Regions from separate parts of the Homo sapiens genome. Here regions 2, 3 and 4 are each linked to region 1. The links are contacts of gene promoters, found by promoter capture Hi-C in blood cells and fetal thymus (Javierre and others, 2016). All regions are on one chromosome and are shown on one strand. Each heading gives the region's core, a stretch centred on a gene start or on the middle of the fragment in contact. The rest is flanking DNA. Distances are from core to core; before and after follow the strand shown. Region 1 holds the start of MTMR6 (myotubularin related protein 6). Region 2 has its middle 3.9 kb from the start of RPL21. Region 3 holds the start of USP12 (ubiquitin specific peptidase 12). Region 4 overlaps SPATA13 (spermatogenesis associated 13).

What was found. Contacts are between HindIII fragments. The CHiCAGO score rates a contact against its expected background, and 5 or more counts as called.
Region 2: a fragment that was not itself captured here is called in contact with the fragment with the promoter of MTMR6 in region 1 in 1 of 17 cell types (neutrophils); the score reaches 6.1 in neutrophils.
Region 3: a contact is called between a fragment that was not itself captured here and the fragment with the promoter of MTMR6 in region 1, in 1 of 17 cell types (total CD8 T cells). The highest score is 5.2, in total CD8 T cells.
Region 4: a fragment that was not itself captured here is called in contact with the fragment with the promoter of MTMR6 in region 1 in 1 of 17 cell types (total CD8 T cells); the score reaches 5.6 in total CD8 T cells.

The regions. Positions count from the first base shown.
Region 1 is chr13:25,285,487-25,289,982 of GRCh38, reverse strand. MTMR6 (myotubularin related protein 6) reads left to right here and starts at 2,495. Exons shown (of 14, transcript NM_004685.5): 1 at 2,495-2,759. The coding sequence starts at 2,736. RefSeq lists enhancers at 2,182-2,351, 2,452-2,791, 2,495-3,115. The HindIII fragment of the contact is 4,901 bases long and covers 1-3,156 here.
Region 2 is chr13:27,245,424-27,249,919 of GRCh38, reverse strand. No RefSeq gene overlaps it. Among named protein-coding and RNA genes, the nearest start is that of RPL21, 3.9 kb to the left of the region's middle. The HindIII fragment of the contact is 1,725 bases long and covers 977-2,701 here.
Region 3 is chr13:27,170,486-27,174,981 of GRCh38, reverse strand. It overlaps USP12 (ubiquitin specific peptidase 12), which reads left to right and starts at 3,171. Exons shown (of 9, transcript NM_182488.4): 1 at 3,171-3,390. The coding sequence starts at 3,343. USP12-DT (USP12 divergent transcript) reads right to left here and starts at 2,723. Exons shown (of 2, transcript NR_046548.1): 1 at 2,610-2,723. RefSeq lists enhancers at 2,395-2,584, 4,085-4,194 and silencers at 2,645-3,284, 3,425-3,474, 3,535-3,624, 3,695-3,764, 3,795-3,844. The HindIII fragment of the contact is 218 bases long and covers 1,897-2,114 here.
Region 4 is chr13:24,261,017-24,265,512 of GRCh38, reverse strand. All of the region lies in intron 4 of SPATA13 (spermatogenesis associated 13), which reads right to left. Among named protein-coding and RNA genes, the nearest start is that of SPATA13-AS1, 8.8 kb to the right of the region's middle. The HindIII fragment of the contact is 2,249 bases long and covers 1,256-3,504 here.

The sequences.
Region 1 (4,496 bases), core at 1,246-3,745:
AAATCGGAATGCCAGCGGATTTCTGAACAACTGCATTGAAAGTCAGGATATGTCTCTGGGAGCTTTCAAAATCCTAATTAAAATTACAGAATTCTAGACCTAGCCAAACTTCCCGTCAAGGATTTATGCTCCATTCACCCTTTCTCAGGAAGTTAATACAGAATATACTACATCAGAATAAAACAATGCAAGTAAGTAAATCAAGAAAGATAAACCACAGGATCTAAAAATTCAGCACAAGTAACCAACACATTTCTCAGGCCCATGGTGAGGAGAGTCCCAGGATAATATCCATTCAGTAGGCTCAGAGAACACAAGTGCAAACTGGAGCAAAAGGAGAAAAGGCTCCTAGAAGCATCTGGAGACCTCTAAAGAGATGTCTCGAGGAAAGATAATGGAACTGAGTGATTGCCAGATTTAACCATAAGGAATATTCTATCTAGTGCAAGAGTATTCAACTCAAGAGTCAAAGAAACGTCATTTAATATTTTATCTGTTATTTTACTTTCTTTCTGTAAAGCTAGGTAATTTTCTAGCCTATCATATTAACATAAATAGAACTTTAATATGGATTTTGAGAAGCAAATCAATGTAAAACAGTTGTTAAGAATACAGACTCTGAAGTCAGCCTGTCTGGCTTTATAACATGGATCTTGGCTTTATCTGCTATGTGATATTGGGCAAGTTACTTCACTTCATTGTGTCTCGCTTGTCTCATCTCTAAAATAAAGAAAGCAATAGCATTTTCCTCAGAATACCCGTAAAGCACTCAGTACATTTGGTCACCTGACATCATTATGATTGCCTCTCTGTGAGAATTGGTAAAGAGAGGACACAGGAAGTGAGGAGATGAGAAGAGGGAGGATAATCTGTAGGGGAATGGGGAAGGAGGAAGTTGTAAATTGGGAGGAAAATGATATAAAAAGTTTTGTTAAGAAAGTCTTGCTGTATGCTATACAATTCACCTCTTTCTGTTTTCTCAAAAAGCAATCCTCAGTAAAGACCTACATTACTTTTCTCTCTCTCTATATATATATATATGTGTATATATATATATATGTATATATATATATATATATATGTGTATATATATATATATATATATTTTTTTTTTTTTCTGAGCAGGATTTGTGGGGTTTTTTTTCGGGGGGAGGGGGTGGATGTGATACTGTACTAAGGTTGGTTTCTAGGTGGTTTAATGTAACTCTTATTACATATTTAGCTTAGAGGAGTCAGCAACTCCACCGCAAAGGCTGTTGTGTTTAATAACCATCTCCATTGCTTTGGCAATCTGTCTGAAACATCGTAGGCACTCAAAACAAAACAAACCAAGACAACTTGAACAAAATGAAACAAATAAGTGAAACAAAATTTTTAATTATAAAAGAAAATTTAGATGTTAGGCTTTTCTAACACCAATCACAGTATGAAAGATGAAGATTACAAACCTTAACCGGCTTAGTACAGAATACTTACAAAACGTAGAGCAGAGTTTCTCGGACTCTAACTCCTGACCTCAAGTGATCCGCCCGCCTCAGCCTCCCAAAGTTCTGGGATTACAGGCGTGAACCACCGCGCCTGGCATAGAGCAGGGTTTCTCAACCTCTGCACTGTTGTCATCTGCCGGATAATTCCCTGTAGTTGGGGGGTTGGTCTGGTGCCTAGTAGGGTGTTCAGCAGCCGACTTGTGACTTGGCCTCCACCCACCAGTTGCCCCCCGCCGCCACCCCCCCACCACCACCATTTGAGACAACCAAAAATATCTCCAGATGTTACCAAATGTCCCCCGGGGAGAAAACTCACTCCAGGCTGAGAAGTACCACATTAGACGTGTTCTAACAAAAATTACCTGTAACCCTCACCTAGAAATGTAAACTTTTTGTTTACATAAATAAAAATTACAGAGCACGGCTACATTGAACTTATTGTTCCATAGTCAGTTTTTTCTTCACTCAGTAATGCAGCATTAACATTTTCGTTATGTGATATCCCTCTACAGGATGAGTTTTAATGGATGCTGGTGCTAACATCGTATGAAATTGAGGTAGGAGGCGGGACTCTGACACCAGACCAGATTGAGGACTAGCTAATCATCATACTTTACATAAGGAATCCGTAGGATTGGAGAGTTGATTGTTTCAAATAAGGCTGGTTTCCTTATTTGGTTATTTCCTTAGAATAATAACTCCAAATCTGATTATTTCCTTAGAATACATTCTTATGAGTAGAACTGCAGCTCAAACTAAATTTGGTGCTGTCCAGTGGTATGGCGATGGACTTCAGAACATCCTCCACTCTTGCCCTCACCCCACAAGAACCCTTTACTCGGGATCCATTCTCACGCAGTCTTCCTCCCCGACCGCCCCGCGCGTCCGCTCGGCGGGATGACAAAGACCGCCTCGGGTGGGGTGGTGAGCAGTACCGGCCTCCTCCAGCAGGGGGCGCTGTGGGATCCGCCGCTGTCCGGGACGAACCAGCAAGCCGCTCTCGGTCCACACACGCTCTGTCTGCCTGCCCCGAGTCCCCCGGGAGGCCGCGGGGTTTGGGGAAGTGTTTCTAGGAGACGGCGCTCACCGGCTGCACCTGCGCCGTTGACGCCACCGGGGCCGGCAGACAGACCCGCGGCGCTGGCTGGTGGAGGGAGTTCCCGCTTGCTCTCTGTCGCTGTCACCGCCCTGTTTCTGTAGCCGTATGGTACGCCTGTGAGACCGGCTGCCGGCTGACGTCTCCTTGCGATGGAGCATATCCGGACGACCAAGGTAGTCGGGCGCGGGATCGCCAGTCTTCAGGGGCCCTGCTCTGACCCGGCTGAGGCAGGAGGAGACGAAGGCTCTGCTGGCCTGACTGGGGCTGGGAGCCGGCCCGGCGGAGACCCGGCCCGGGGCGGGAGGGTCTGGCCAGGCCTGGTCTGGGAGGGCAGGGTTAGCTTGGGCCAAGCGGGGTGCAGAGGCCTCCTGTACCTACAGGAGCAGGGGTCCCACTTTCAGCATCTTGGAGTGCGTAGAGATAAGTCTGGGAAAACTGGTCACCGCCCTCCTAGCTCTACGTTTTCTCGGGCAAAATTGGGGCTCCTTTAACTTTGGAGTCTTTCAGCCTTTCGTTGCCTCATCAACCGGAAAACCGTCTTCAAATTAACATTATGATGCTGTGTAAGCTTGTCCTTGCTCACATTTCATTGTCCCGTGTCACAGATTCACAGTACGAGTTTTGGAGGAACCGAGATCAGCACTCCGCTCCACCTCCCTTTGCTGTCTCGGTCTCCAGTCTTTCGCATCCGGTGTTTCCGTGTCTGTGCTTCATACTTCAGGCATTGTCCTGTGTCAGTAGTCAAGAGTTCTGGAGAAGGGAAAAATGTTATTCCATATTTTAAAAGGTCGGATGCAGCTTTATTCGATTGACCTTATTGCACTCCATGCTTAATTTTTGTGTGTGGAAGACCTTCATTTTGAGAACGAACAAATATTTTTATTTCGTTACAAATTTAAAAACGGAAGGAAATGACATCAGAATGTTACCAAATTACGTTTCCAACGACATTTAAGTTTAACTTTGAGAGGGAGAAAAACATAAATCGAGACGAGAAGAATAACATTTTAAAATCACTGCGAGCCCACTGCAAGGCAGCCTCTTGACGTTTTGGCAAAGCTGAAGCCCTTTAGTTGCTGCCCATCTTAAAATTACGGCTCATTTAGGGAACCACAGATGTTCGTTATCTTCATTGTTCCAAGAAGAATTTGTGTTTTTAAAAATTTTTTAAATGTTTCACAAACCTTTTAAAGGTATACATAAATTTTTATTGGAGCTTGTCTTTAACATTGTGCATACCGTATCTAGTAAAATTGAAGATTCTGAAAACTAACCCCTTAACATTTTTTTTTAAGAGAAGAAAGATAAAATAACTTGAGAATTCAAGTTGTGGGTACTTAAATTTTGAAAATGGAAGGGTGCTTAAGTCTATAACCAAACTCGTAGAAGGTGCACAGAGGAAAAGAGGACTAGAGTGGACATTGGATCAGGTTCTTGTATTGGTTCCAGATATGTATTATGTAGTAGCTAAGTGCACGTGACTTCCTTCTGCATCAGTTCGAAGCTCCTCTATTTTTCATATGCTTTCTACGGTGCATAGCACACAATCGAAAACCGGTAAAAGGCTGGGCACGGTGGCTCACGCCTGTAATCCCAGCACTGTGGGAGGCCGAGGTGGGCGGATCACTTGAGGTAAGGAGTTCGAGACCAGCCTGGACAACCTGGCAAAACCCCATATCTACTAAAAATACAAAAATTAGCCGGGCATGGTGGCAGGCGCCTGTAATCCCAGCTACTCAGAGGCTGAGGCAGGAGAATTGCTTCAACCGGGGAAGTGGAGATTGCAGTGAGCCAAGATGGCACCAGTGCACTCCAGCCTGGGCAATAGAGCGGGACTCAGTCTCAAAAAAAAAAAAGAAAGCCGGGTGGGGTGGTATGTACCTGTAGTCCCAGCTACTCGGGAGGCTGAG
Region 2 (4,496 bases), core at 590-3,089, 2.0 Mb before region 1:
TGAAGAACTTGAGGAGGAATAGGATTTGGTATTGATTCCTTCAATACGTTGACTCCTCCAGACTTTCACTGTAACCATTAGCCCTTGGCTTCTAGATTGTCTTTAACTTAATTTTCTGTAGTTCATTATTACAGTCACTCTGTTAGCACTCACTTCCTCAGGTCACTTTTCCTTTCCCATTACTTTCTTTCTTTCTTTGAGAGGGAATTTTGTTCTTGTTGCCCAGGCTGGAGTGCAGTGGCGCGACATCGACTCACCACAACCTCTGCCTCCCGGGTTCAAGCGATTCTCTTGCCTCAGGCTCACGAGGAGTAGCTGGGATTACAGGCGCCCGCCACCACACCTGGCTGATTTTTTTGTTTTTAGTAGCGACGAGGTTTCACCATGTTGGCCAGGCTGGTCTCCAACTCCTGACCTCAGGTGATCCACCCGCCTCCACCTCCCAAAGTGCTGGGATTATAGGCGTGAGCCACCGCGCCTGGCCCCCATCACTTTCTTAGCACATACCGAACCTTGGATAAATGCAACCGTGACAGTACCTCCACAGCTGAGCACCGTTGAAGAAAATCTTGTAATCTGGTGTGATGACAAATCAGAAACTAGTCATCCATGCACTATATTTTTTTGCACTTGGAAATATTTTTTTGAGCCCATAGAGTGTTTTAAAAATTAACATATCAAAAAAAAAAGATTTCTGGCTTCCCTTGAGAAATCAGGAGATCTGGCAGCATAGAGCTGATAGTCTTGATGGCCACTCCACTGGCTTCCCCTTTAGATGGGGCATTCATTCTTGAGTTCCTTCATCACTCAGCCTGCTTCAGTCATTTACCTGCCTGGCTCCTGTTGGCATTTGTGTTTTTAGCCTCTCCCATAAATTCACGACCAACCCTTAACAAATGGGTACTGTACTGTTTAGCATCCCCACTACAGTTCCCCAGTTAATTTGCTTACCTGCTGTCAAAAAAAAAATTAAGCTTTTACATAATTAAAGTTAGTTTTATTCAGAAGTCTCACTGAGGACTGTAGACCAAGGTTTATACCCTGAGGGCAGTTCTTTCACAGGGCTCCAAAGTGGTCCCTCAGCCCATTGCTTCTATGTAGGTTGTGGGGGTTCTGTATGTGTGAAATCTCATTAAAGTTTGGGTGTAAGAGTACATCAGTTTATAGATTACTAAAGTAATTTGGTTATAGATTGTAGAAGCATAATCACTAACCCTGTCAGACATCTTCATGTAGGAAAAGGCAAGGTCAAGTTCATTTACTGTTTCAGGAACGTTGTAACTCAGGCGAGTGACACGGGGGGCCGTGTGCTCTATCCTGTTTTAAGATTCTTCCTGAGGAGCTGCATTTCATCACAGTCAGGGGTTCAAGCAGAAATAAGCAAACCTGGCTTAACATTTTCTATTTTGTCTCACATTATTCTATTTAAAGATTATTTCATGTCATTTCTTTGATTATCAAACCTTCCTTTCTCCCACCTTTCTTTCAGCTGATGACTGCCTCTTTTTTTGAGACTCTCTTAGTCCCCAGGCTGGAGTGCAGTGGCATGATCTCGGCTCACTGCAACCTCCACCTCCTGGGTTCAAGCAATTCTCATGCCTCAGCCTCCCAAGTAGCTGGGATTATAGGCGTGTGCCACCACACCCGGCTAATTTTATTATTTTTGGTAGAAACAGGGTTTCGCCATGTTGGCCAGGCTGGTCTTGGACTCCTGACCTCAAGTGATCCACCTGTCTCAGCCTCTCAAAGTGCTGGGATTACAGGTGTGAGCCACCACGCCCAGCCAACTGCCTCATTTTTATCAGTGTACAAACATGCTCCCAGCCAACTCCATCATTTTTATCCATGTACAAACAGGCTCTGGTGTTCCCCACTAAAACCCGCAACTCTCTTCTTTCTGATTCTGCTTGATCTCATATTCCTTTATAACTACTGCCCCATATGTTCATTTTTCTTCTGTCAAATGTAAAAAAAAAGGAGTCATGAAATTTTTGGTTTTGTACATCAAAAATTGTGAAAGTTCAGCAGTGTCATACAGTTTAATACATAAACACTATTATCTCTTCCTCATCTTTCATTCAGCTTCAGTTTCATTTGACTTCTGTTCTAGTCATGTCATTAAAGCTGCTCTTGTCAGGGCATCAACTGCTTATATGTTGCCAAAGCCAAAAGACATTCCCTGTTCTTTCCTTTCTTGATCTCCGCAAAGCACTGGACTCTGTTGGCCAGCTCTTCCTCCATGAAACACTACCCTTCCTCACCACTCCACAGTCTGATTTGCTGATTTTCCCTCCTCTCCCTGTCCTATAAAGACTACATTTCCCTGGGTCTTGGAGCTAGGCCCCTGCTCTTCTCTTTCTGTACTGCCTTCCTGGTTAATTCCATTTACTCCTATAATTTTAAATTTCATCTCTGTGTTGCTTACTACCAGATTGATTTATGTGATTCCAGCCTTTCCTCAAGATTGCTATTCAACTTGATATCTATTCTTGGATACTCTTTAGCATCTCAACATGTCCAAATCTTTTATTTTTCTTTTCTTTTTTTTTAACTGCTCCTTGTGGAGCAGGGCTATCCCATAGGCAGCGTGCCTAGAGTAGCCAAAATTAATTGTATGTGGGTACTCTACTGTTTAACATCCCCACTACAGTTCCCCAGTTAATTTGCTTACCTTCTGTCAACTTAAAAAAAAAATCAAGCTTTTACATAATTAGTTTTATTTAGAAGTCTCACTGAGGACTATAGACCAACGTTTATACCCTTGGTATAACCTTATGGGATGTGTTGTAAGTTTTTATGGGATGTTTTTAAGTTTTAGATATACTTTTTTTTTTTTTCTTTTGGAGACAGGGTCTTGCTCTCTTGCCCAGGCTGGAGTGCAGGAACATGATCATGGCTCACTGCAGCCTCAACCTCCTGGGCTCAAGCCATCCTCCTGCCTCAGCCACTGATGTAGCTGGCATCACAGGCATGCACCACCACACCTGGCTAATTTGTAAAAATTCTTTTGTAGATATGGAGTCTCCTTTTGTTGCCCAGGCTGGCCTTGAACTCCTGAGCTCAGGCAATCCTCCCACATTGGCATCCCAAAGAGCTGGGATTGCAGGCGTGAACCCCTATGCCTAGCTCATAAAACTTTTTATTTTCTGCCAGATGCAGTGGCTCACACCTGTAATCCCAGCAGTTTGGGAGGCCGGGGCAGGCAGAGTGCTTGAGCACAGGAGTTCGAGACCAGTCTGGGCAAGATGGTGAAACCCTGTCTCTACAAAAATACAAAAATTAGCAGGGTGTGATGGTATGCGCCCATAGTCCCAGCTGCTTGCGGGGCTGAAGCAGGAGAATCACTTGGGCCCAGAGGTTGAGGCTACAGTGAGCTGTGTTCATGCCACTGCACTCCAGCTGGAGCGACAAAGTGAAACTTTGTCTCAAACAAGAAAACAACAACAAAAAAACTTGATTTTTACCCTGAAGCCTGTTTCTGCTCCAATATTTTCCATTCAGTACATAGCATAATCAAGAAACCTTGGTTTTGCCTTTAAGTTTCCCTTTATCCCTTCCGTATGGAATCCATTGGAAAGTTTTGTTCCAGTTCTGATTGTAAAATATTAATATATTAATGTATCTCCAGCTGACCTACCTCTTCCCATCTCTGTGGCCACGCCACTAATACGTCTTATTCTGAACTACAGCAATGGCATCTTTATGGTCACTTTTTTTTCCTCTCTTGCCCCTGTTCTATCCATTTCCTATATAGTGGCCAGGGTGATCTTTTAAAAATATAAACCTGATTATATCACACCCTTGCTTACAGCCCTCCACAGGCTTTCTGTTGCTCTTAGAATAAAATCTAAATTCCTTACCTTGTCTTACAAAGTCCTGTATAAACTAGATCGTGCTTATCTTTTCAGATTCCTGTCTCCCTCACTTTCTTGTGTCTCTCTCTGCCTTCTTCAATTCCGTAAATACTTCAAGTTTTTTCTAGTCTTGGGATCGTTATGCATGCTGTTCCCTTTGTTCTTCAGTAGCTTGATCTTTCTCATCTTCTTGATTCCCGAAAGAGGCTTCCTAAGAGAAGTGATGCCCAAGACATTAAAACATGAATGGGCGTTAGATGAAGACAAAAGAGCATTCCATCGTAGAAGACAATGTAGCATGTGACGGTGAGTACAAGCAGTGTGGTGTTGCCCATGCAAGACAAGAGTGATGGGAAATAAAGCCAAAAGGCAGATGGTGAAGGTTCTTACCAAGGTGCCAAAGAATGCTGAATCGAGCCTGTGAGGCTGGAAGCAAAATGGAGTCAGCTATGCTAGACTTCTCTCACTTTCTTTTTTTTTTTTTTTTTTTTTTTGAGATGGAGTCTCACTTTGTTGCCTAGGCTGGAGTGCAGTGGCACAATCTTGGCTCACTGCAGCCTCTGCCTCCTGGGTTCAAGCAGTTCTCCTGCCTCAGCTTCCCGAGTAGCTGGAACTACAGGCGTGCACCGTCACGTCCTTCTA
Region 3 (4,496 bases), core at 756-3,255, 1.9 Mb before region 1:
AACAGTATGCAAATGAAAACATTATAAAATGCTGTGCTGACTAAATGGATTAAGGTTGGACATAGTTCATTTACTTGCCTGGTCCCTGAGGCATCTGGGCATATTTTGTAGTTTGCATATTCAAGAAGGCCGAAAAGGAGTCAGTTGTACACAAACTCATCTTTTGCTAGGCACAGGGAAGCTCTTTGTAAAGCTGATTACACAGCTGTGTAAAGCTGTGTTCTAAAGCCAGATTACCCTTTCCAAGCTCAGGGTGCAAAAGTGTGGAGTTTCAGCCAAACTTATTCTCCAACTGCATTACATATGGTAAAGAACACTCAGTACAACACCTAGCACATAGATTCAAGAATGTCTCTTTTATGTTTGTGTCTCTCCAATCGACCATAGGCTGTGGAGACAAGGCATTGTGAGGCTCTGTGATTAGGTTTCATGACTTTACCTGTGAATTTAGATGGCTCCAACATCAACTAGACATGACTCCAGATAATTCTATCAGAAATCCATTTTACTTTTTAAAATTTAATTTAATTTAATTTTTGAGACGGAATCTTACTCTGTCGCCCAAGCTGGAGTGCAGTAGCATGATCTCGGCTCACTGGTTTTTCCCAGGTTCATGCGACTCTCCTGCCTCAGCCTCCCTAGTAGCTTGGATTACAGGTGCTCGCCACCATGCCCAACTAATTTTTGTAGTTTTAGTAGAGATGGGCTTTCTCCATGTTGGCCAGGTTGGTCTCAAACTCCTGACCTCAAGTGATCCGCCCGCCTTGGCCTCCCAAAGTGCTGGGATTACAACAGGCGAGAGCCACTGTGCTGTATTTTTGAGATACTGTTTCAGTCTGTCGCTCAGGCTACAGTGCAGTGGTTCAATCATGGCTCACTGCAACCTGGATATCTCGGGCTTAAGTTATCCTCTTACTTCGCCTCACAAGTAGCTGGGACTATAGGTATGCGCCACCATGCACCACGTATTTATTTTTATTTTTAGTAGAGACAAGGTCTCACTATGTTGCCCAGGCTGGTCTTGAACTCCCTGGTCTCAAGGAAGTTGGAAGCCATCCTCCTGCCTCAGCCTCCCAAAGTGCTGGGATTACAGGCCTGATCCACTGTGCCCAGCCTAGAAATTTATTTATTTATTTATTTTTGAGAGAGTCTCACTCTGTCACCCAGGCTGGGGTGCAATGGCACAATCCCAGTTCACTGCAATCTCCACCTCCAGGATCCAATCTATTCTTATGCCTCAGCCTCCTGAGTAGCTGGGATTACAGGCGTACACTGCTACGCCTGGCTAATTTTTGTATTTTAGTAGAGACGGGATTTCACCACGTTGGCCAGGCTGGTCTCCAACTCCTGACCTCAAGTGATCCACCTGCCTCGGCCTCCCAAAGTGCTGGAATTACAGGTGTGAGCCACCATACTCAGCCTAGAAATTCATTTTAGAAAGGCCTTGTTCTTATATAAACTTATATGTAAAGCCAGTGGCTTTTGTTCCTGTGACATGTTCGGATTAATGGACAAGGAGGCATATGGGTGGTTAGCGGGATGGAGGCAGGTCTAAAATTCTGGCACATCAGACCTGTTTGCTGGAATAGAACAGCAAGTGGGAAGGACAGGATGACCACAGCTATTTATCAGGACGGGCACACAGATGGGCATGGTGACACTCGGACAAGGCCCAGGTAGGCCCTAGAGGTCTAAGATGTAGAAACCCTTGTCCAAACAGGGGGTAGAAAAGAGCAAGAAAGAATTCAGGTGGGTGATGCTTGCAAGTATAGAGAGGAAAGCCCCTGGCTGGGGTATCAGGGCTCTTGGCTTCCATGGAGGCAGGCGCTTGGAGATCCAGTCCGGCTACCATGGGGCTTGGCTATATTCAATCTGCATTCCCCCCCCAAGCAAGCTTATAATGGAATCACTATGGAAACAGTATTCATGTACCAGAAGTCTATTTTTCACTTAAATTTTGTTTGAATGCTTTTTGTTTTTGAGTGCTTTGAACCCTTGAGGTGAGGCATTTCTGATTTTACAGCTCTGCCTGAATTCAGATCCTCAACCCCACTGAATTAGGGGAACCCAGAAAAGTACCCCATCACGAGTTCAATCAGAAAATATCACAAGCTTTCTAACATAATAATTTATGAAGTTATTCTACTCACTTGAACTACTTTCTCAAATAGGAAAAAATAAAGCTGAGCTGCCAGGCATGAAGAACAGGGTGCAAATATGAATTTTATAAAAGGAGAAAGAGGAACTACCCATGCCAGTAGCCAGCACTGCCTAAGGATTTCTCACAGGGCATTTTTCTTGCTTGCGGGCTTCCTGTCTCTGGTAATATCATCATCACTGCTGGCTTGAGATCCTCCCTATTTTGCAGCTCAATGTGCAGATATTTAGAAGCCTATTATAAATTTATCGCCAACAGGCCAACAGGTTTCGCTCCTCTCCTTCCCCCATTACTTATCTTTCTTCTTAATTCAAAGAGTTAAACATGTGTAATTTGTTCTTTGCCTCTTCATTTTTGTTTAATTATTTTGTCTTTTTCTAAGTTGTGTTTGACTCCGGTGATTCATCCAATATACGTAAAAAGAAACAAACCAAGTGCTTGGGACGCATACCCGGGTTATCTTAACTGTGCAGAGCAGGTTTCCTCCCACTCCGCCCGTAGTTACCCAGATCATCGCCTCCGTTTTCTGTTTAGGCAGCGGGGGCTCGCCGTCCCCTCGCCCGCGGTGGGTGTCGCAGCTGGTCCCCTCCAGGGTTCTCCCAGATCGCCGCCGCCACCCCCGCGCCTCCCCGCCGCACCCCTTCCTACGCGGGGGTCTCTGGGTCCCCGGCTCTAGGACCGCAGGGACGCGGGCAGGAGGTGGCGCCCGCCTTCGGTCCTGCCCTCTGCCGCGCGCGGGGTGGGGACGGACCGGAGTTCCCCGGCTCGCGCACAAGGGCCGCGGAGGGGTTGCCGAGGGGTGGGCGGGGCTGCGCCGCCTGGCCGCGCCGCTGCCTGGCAGGCCGGGCATTAGGGCCTCGGCGGAGCCCGCTCCCCTGTGCGCTGGGCGGGGTGGGCGGAGGGCGGCTTCGCGTGCAGGCGCGGGCCCGGAGGCAGCGGCTGCGCCCTGCGCCGGGGCGGAGCCGGGGGCGGGCCGGCGGCCGGCAGGCGGGGGCTGGGGCCCGAGGCCGGGAGTGCCTGAGCGCCGGCGGCGACGACGGCAGCGGCGGCCCAGCGGGCTCGGTGGTTGGGTCCGCGGCGGCTCGGGGTCCGCCCGCGGGCTGCGGTGCGAGCGGGCGGCCCGGCTCCCCTCCTCCCCCGCCCGCCGCCGCCGCTGTGATTGGGTGGAAGATGGCGCTGGCCGGATGGAAATCCTAATGACAGTCTCCAAATTCGCCTCCATCTGTACCATGGTAGGTGGCGGCGAGCGGGCGGCCGGGGCTGCCGGGACCTCTCGGGCGGGCGGGCGGCGCTGGACCCGCCTCTCCCAGTGGCCGCTCGCGGGGCCTAGCGCCGGGGCGGGCGGGCGGGCTGGGCGGCCCGGGCGGCCCGGGCGGGGGCGGTTGGACGGCGCGCAGGCGGGGAGCGCGGGGGTGAGCGGCCCAGGCGGCTGGGGAGGGGGCGCCGCCTGGTGGGCCAGGGCGGCGCGAGGGTAGCGGTGAGTGGGCGACCGTGCCAGACGCGGCGTCGGGCGGGCACCGGCCTCCGGGAGTCCCCGGCTGAACTGCTGGGGTCCGCTCGGGACGCGGGGACGAGGGCCGAGGCGCGCCCGGCCTGTGCCGGGGTGAGGGGTGGGCGCGCGCGAGCCAGAGCGCGGCCCCGGGCCGGGGTCGTCGGGGAGGGGGCGCGGAGCCGCGCGGGCTCCATTTCCTTCTGGTCGCGCGCCGAGCGGGAGGGGTCCCCGGGAGGGGTGGGGGTCGGCGGGCAGGAAGGAAGGGTCTCGGCCGGGGCGGGCAGCGCTCATTCCCGCCTGGGAGAGGACGGAAGTCAAGTGCAGATTTCCTCGCGCCGCTGGCTGGGCCGAGTCCCCGACCCCGCGCTGGGGGAAAGGGGCGTGTGTGAAGGTGGAAACTTTAAATAAGTACTGTTGAAATTCTCTCCATTTTCTCCTCTGAGAGGCACGAGCTCTCCCGTTTCCAGCCGTGTGTCCAGGTGGCAGTCTTGTCTCTGGGAATGCACGTTAATCTTGAAAAGCAGCATTAGCTTTCCTGTCATTTGTTTACTTCAGCCCACCAGACACATCTGTATGTGGCTGGAGCTAGGTCTGTCTGTGCGGGGACCGCCTGCCAAGGCGATGGTATTTGTTTTCCTAGGGCGTTTAAATAGACTGTAAGGGAAAAGTGCTAATGCCCGCTGGAAGTCCCGAATTAAGCAAAACGTGGGCGCGTTTAAAACTTGGTGTTTTGTGCGTGGCCAGAAGGACCACAGTTTTCCACATGATGAGACAAATTCGTTTCATTAGTTCCTCATGAGCTTATATGTAGGGATCATAATTTATGAGTCATCACCGAAAAAAGTT
Region 4 (4,496 bases), core at 1,131-3,630, 1.0 Mb after region 1:
GTTGGGATGGGAGAGTCCTTCACAGGAAATAATTTGCTACATTTGCTATCAGTTATTCAGGCCAATGTCCATTCCCCTAAATCATCGAGTGCCGAGAGTGACCTCTTCATTCTAAATGGATTAAAGACAAACATGATTATTAATCTACAGGTCACAGTGATGCTACTTTCCAGAGGAACCTGAAAGGCATTGAACGTAACACAGGGCATGGCATGTCCTAGCACAAACTGATGAGCCGGGTAGATGCTGCCTCAGCAGGCCGACTCCTGTTGGGCAAAGGCAGGCTCAGTTCAGGTCTGACTGAAATGCCACTCAGCAGCCACAGACTCTTCACCACAGGAGGGGCGGGCCCCATCATACACAGCTCAGGAAATGGAGCCTGAAGTACAAGGGCAAACTCTGTGAGACTCGCCCCGGCCTGCTTCAAGACAGCTATGAAGAAAAAGTGCCTCTCTTCATGCCTTCAAAGCAACTGCTTTCACCTTGGAGCAATGTGGACCTGAACACACAAAACCAGCGAATATGTGCTCTCAGCGGCTTCAATGAACCCCTTCATCATTCACCCCTACTCAATATCCCACCCTCTCCAAACACAGCTCCAAACAAGATACTTTGGACCTGGGCACTGACTAGAACTTTGATTAATGCAGAAATAAATATAAAATTGTCCTTTAAAAGGTGCCAGCTTCAGCTGAAGGCCATTGTTTTCCTGTTCTCTGTAAGCACACGTGGATTTTTCATCCTTCAGGGCCTAGTACAGATTTCACTTCTTTTCTGTATTTACCTGGTTATTTTCAGATCCTTAGGACCAAGCACATTTCAAACATAACAAGAACACAACAGGGATTGGAGGAATATAACTTTTTTCTTTGTCTTAATAGAAGGCAATTATTGGGACATGGTCTTTAAAACTGCCAACAGGCATATCTTTGTGCAAATCAATTAGACAATATTGTGTTTTGTGATGGAGAAAACATACGGGAAACTGAATAGAATGGAAAGCAATCTGTGTTTTTCAGTTTGATCTCATTTGAATGCTAGCTCCACTATCTACTCATTACATCTTGCTTAGCCAAGCTAGGAAAAGTTACCGAATATTTCTAAGGCCTGACCTTGTCTGTAAGATCAGGCCAGGAATACGTACAGAGTGCTACTGGCTCTTGGTGGTGGTTCGCTAGACATTTAGCTGTCTTGCTCTCCTTCCTCTGACTTTTAATATTCTTTCTTCTTCTTTTAAAATCCAATTTCTGAAGCTTAGTAATAAGACAGACGATATTTTCAATAACTTTTACTTTTTAACTCTAGCTGTTGAGAACTGAGAATGTTTTAACTGCTAGAAGATGAAATTTCATGAGCTTGCTAAAAAAAAAGTTTAATACTTTATGTTTTTCTGAGACAAGAAATAGAACACTATATTCCTTCTAAAAAATCTCGATGATAGGCAACAATGAGGCATGAAACAACAGCTAAGATAACTGCTATGGAGCTAATACAATCTCCAAGACTTGCAGACAATATGGTTTTGGGCACTAAAGGCCATATTTGTAGTCCTTGTTCTGCACACAGAAGCCTTTCATAATTTCTAAATTCCTTCGGACTCTGTGGAATCCAGGCTGTCTCACAGCAGTCAGAAGACAGGGATTTTACCATAGGCAGTCTTAGCAGTCAGGAAAACACTTGCTGCGAGTACTGATAAGTGAATTGATTCATCTCGTTTTGTAAGTAAACACAGTTGGTCCTCCGTATCTGTGGGTTACACATCTGTGGACTCAACCAACTGCAGATTGAAAACATTTAAAAAACTGTGACTGTACTGAATATGTACAGACTTTTTTTCTTGTAACTATTCCCTAAACAATGCAGCATAACAACTATTTACATAGCATTTACATTGCATTAATATTAGGTCTTTAAGTAATCTAGAGGTGATTTAAAGTATATGGAGGATGGGCATGGGTTATATGCAATTATTAGGCCATTTTATATCAGGGACTTTTGCACAGCCTTGGAGTCTGATGCCTGAAGAGTCCTGGAACCAATCCCCCTCAGACAACCAGGGATGACTGTATAATCAACAGCCAATATTCCTTGGCATGAGTATAAAGTGAGATGTAGGGGGAGAAGGGAACGTGGCAAGGCTCACGGCATCCCCACCTAACAATCCAAGTGCTCCATCACCAATTCTCCAACCAGCTTTCCTGAGAGCTCCGCTGCTATCACGCAACAGGCACTAAGCAAGTAAATCCCAAGTTCCTATTTTCCCTCTGATTCTTTATTGAAAGAAAATATTTGAAAATCGATTTGAGTAAAATGCAGAAGCAGCAAGAGATAATTCAAAAAACAAGAGAACAAAAAGATGTTATGGGATGCTTAAAGTCATTTCAAAGGTATCACACACACCTCAACACCTGCTACGGCTTTTCTTTTTTTCCTTCCTTTTAACAAAAAATTCAGTGGAGTCTCTGGGTGATACAACGAAAAATCATTAGATAATACCTAAAATTTGCAGCCCAGAGAATCTATAAAAAAGACCCAGTCAAGTTTCTTTTTTTTTAAAATAACCTGAACGTATGTATTTTAAATTTGCTTAACTTATATTTGGATAATAAACAGTATATTATTCCATATAGACTCCAAGTGCTCTGGGACTTTACTAAGTAGACTAAATGACTTGTCTAAGCTAAGTCACTGATTAGTGCAGTTAAATCAGTAACTCAGAACTCTGGATGTAAACAGTTTCCTGCTCATCATTGCCTTTGTCCCCTGTATAGTTAATGCTTCCCTAATTAATTAGTAATAGTTACTGCACACTTACTGTGTGCCAGGTCATTCTTCCACATCTGTGGGACAGATCATATTAGTTTCTCCCATTACAGATAAAGACATGAAGACTTTGAGATTAAGTGACTTGCCCAAGGATTGGGATTACACTCTCACTTTTTGACCCAAAGGTCTGTTAATAAGAAAATTAACTTTCATAATAATTAGGACAGAATAAGGCCAGAATAACTGTATGAGTAACCTCCCTTTTGTGATGCACTTAGGCTATGAATCAAGAATTCTTACTGCCTTATTTTATTGACAGTCCTAAGAAAAAACAGAAACGTGGTGTGATCTGATCAAACTATCAGTGCATAAATTTGTTATTCCAACAAATTAGAAGTAGGATTTTAACAACCACAAAAGAGCTAAAAAAAAAAAAAGAAAAAAAACTTTGTTTTAAACAAACAAAAAAAATACAAAGAATTTGAATAAATTTCTTTACTACAAGACTTTTCAAAGAAATAAGTTTCAGTAATTTCTCATAATTCAATTAATTTTATTTAAAAAATCAAATTTGAAACAACATAAGCACTTCCTATGATTAAATTCCCCTACTTCCTAAATGTTGGGGATTAATATCAATTCTAAATCAAGAAACGGAATTTTCTGATGTGTAATCTTCCCATCTCTTTGAAAAACATTCAGTGAGAATAAACGCTGACACATTCATACTAACAAGCTTTCAGATACTGGTAATACATAGACAAAATAATTGTTAATATCATAGCCTAATAAATTGTTTTTCATTAGTCCTGAGCCTTTATGGGGTATTTTGAACTATAAAATGAGAAAACCATCAACACAGCTTAAGCAAAATAGATAAAATACCTCAATTTTAAGACAACTCCCCCAACATCCTCCCATGGCATTCTGCCCTAGCACTGAACTGCTGAACTGAAACCGGTTTTTTTTTTTAAGGGCACGAAGCTCCTCCCTGCCACTGGATCCAGTGGGTATTTTTCTCTCTACACTTTGGTGCATTTGACAGTGTGAACCACTCTCACACCTGGAAGCCCTGGCTTCCTTTGACATCTGGGACACCGCTTACCTGCCTGGCTACTTTTTTTCTATTTTCTTTGTGAATTTCTCTGCCTTCACTGGTCCCCAAATGTTGGTCCTCAGAGCATGGTTCAAGATCCTCTTCTCATTTTTACCCCCACTCATATCACACTCCTTCCTAGAGTTTTAAGAACCACTTTGCTGATGACTCCCAAATCTTCATCTCTAACTTTGGGTCCCCTTCCTCAAAATCAGAGCTTCACAATCAAGGATATGGTGATGTCATCTTCATCGAGCTGCCCATAGGTCGCTCTGACTTGACCTGCCTGGAATGGAGTAAGCTCCCCAATTGACCAACATGCTCTTCTCCTAGGCTCCTTGTCAGCCAGGCATCAGAGGCAGCACGGATGGCTGCTCCCTGGCCCCAAACATCCAGACAATTACCTCGACCTCTCGGTTCTTCATATCTCCAGTGCCACTATCATTTTCCGAGGCAACAGACTCCCGAGGTCTCCAGTCCTCCACGATCCAGCCAATGATCTCTCTGAATGCACATCTGATCATCTCATGGCCCTCAAAAGCCCTCAGTGGCTCCCAGTTGCCCAGGCTCTGTCCTCCCAGGCAGCCTGAACTTAGTGGAGGCCCACCTCTCAGCCTCCTCCTCTGCATCCTGC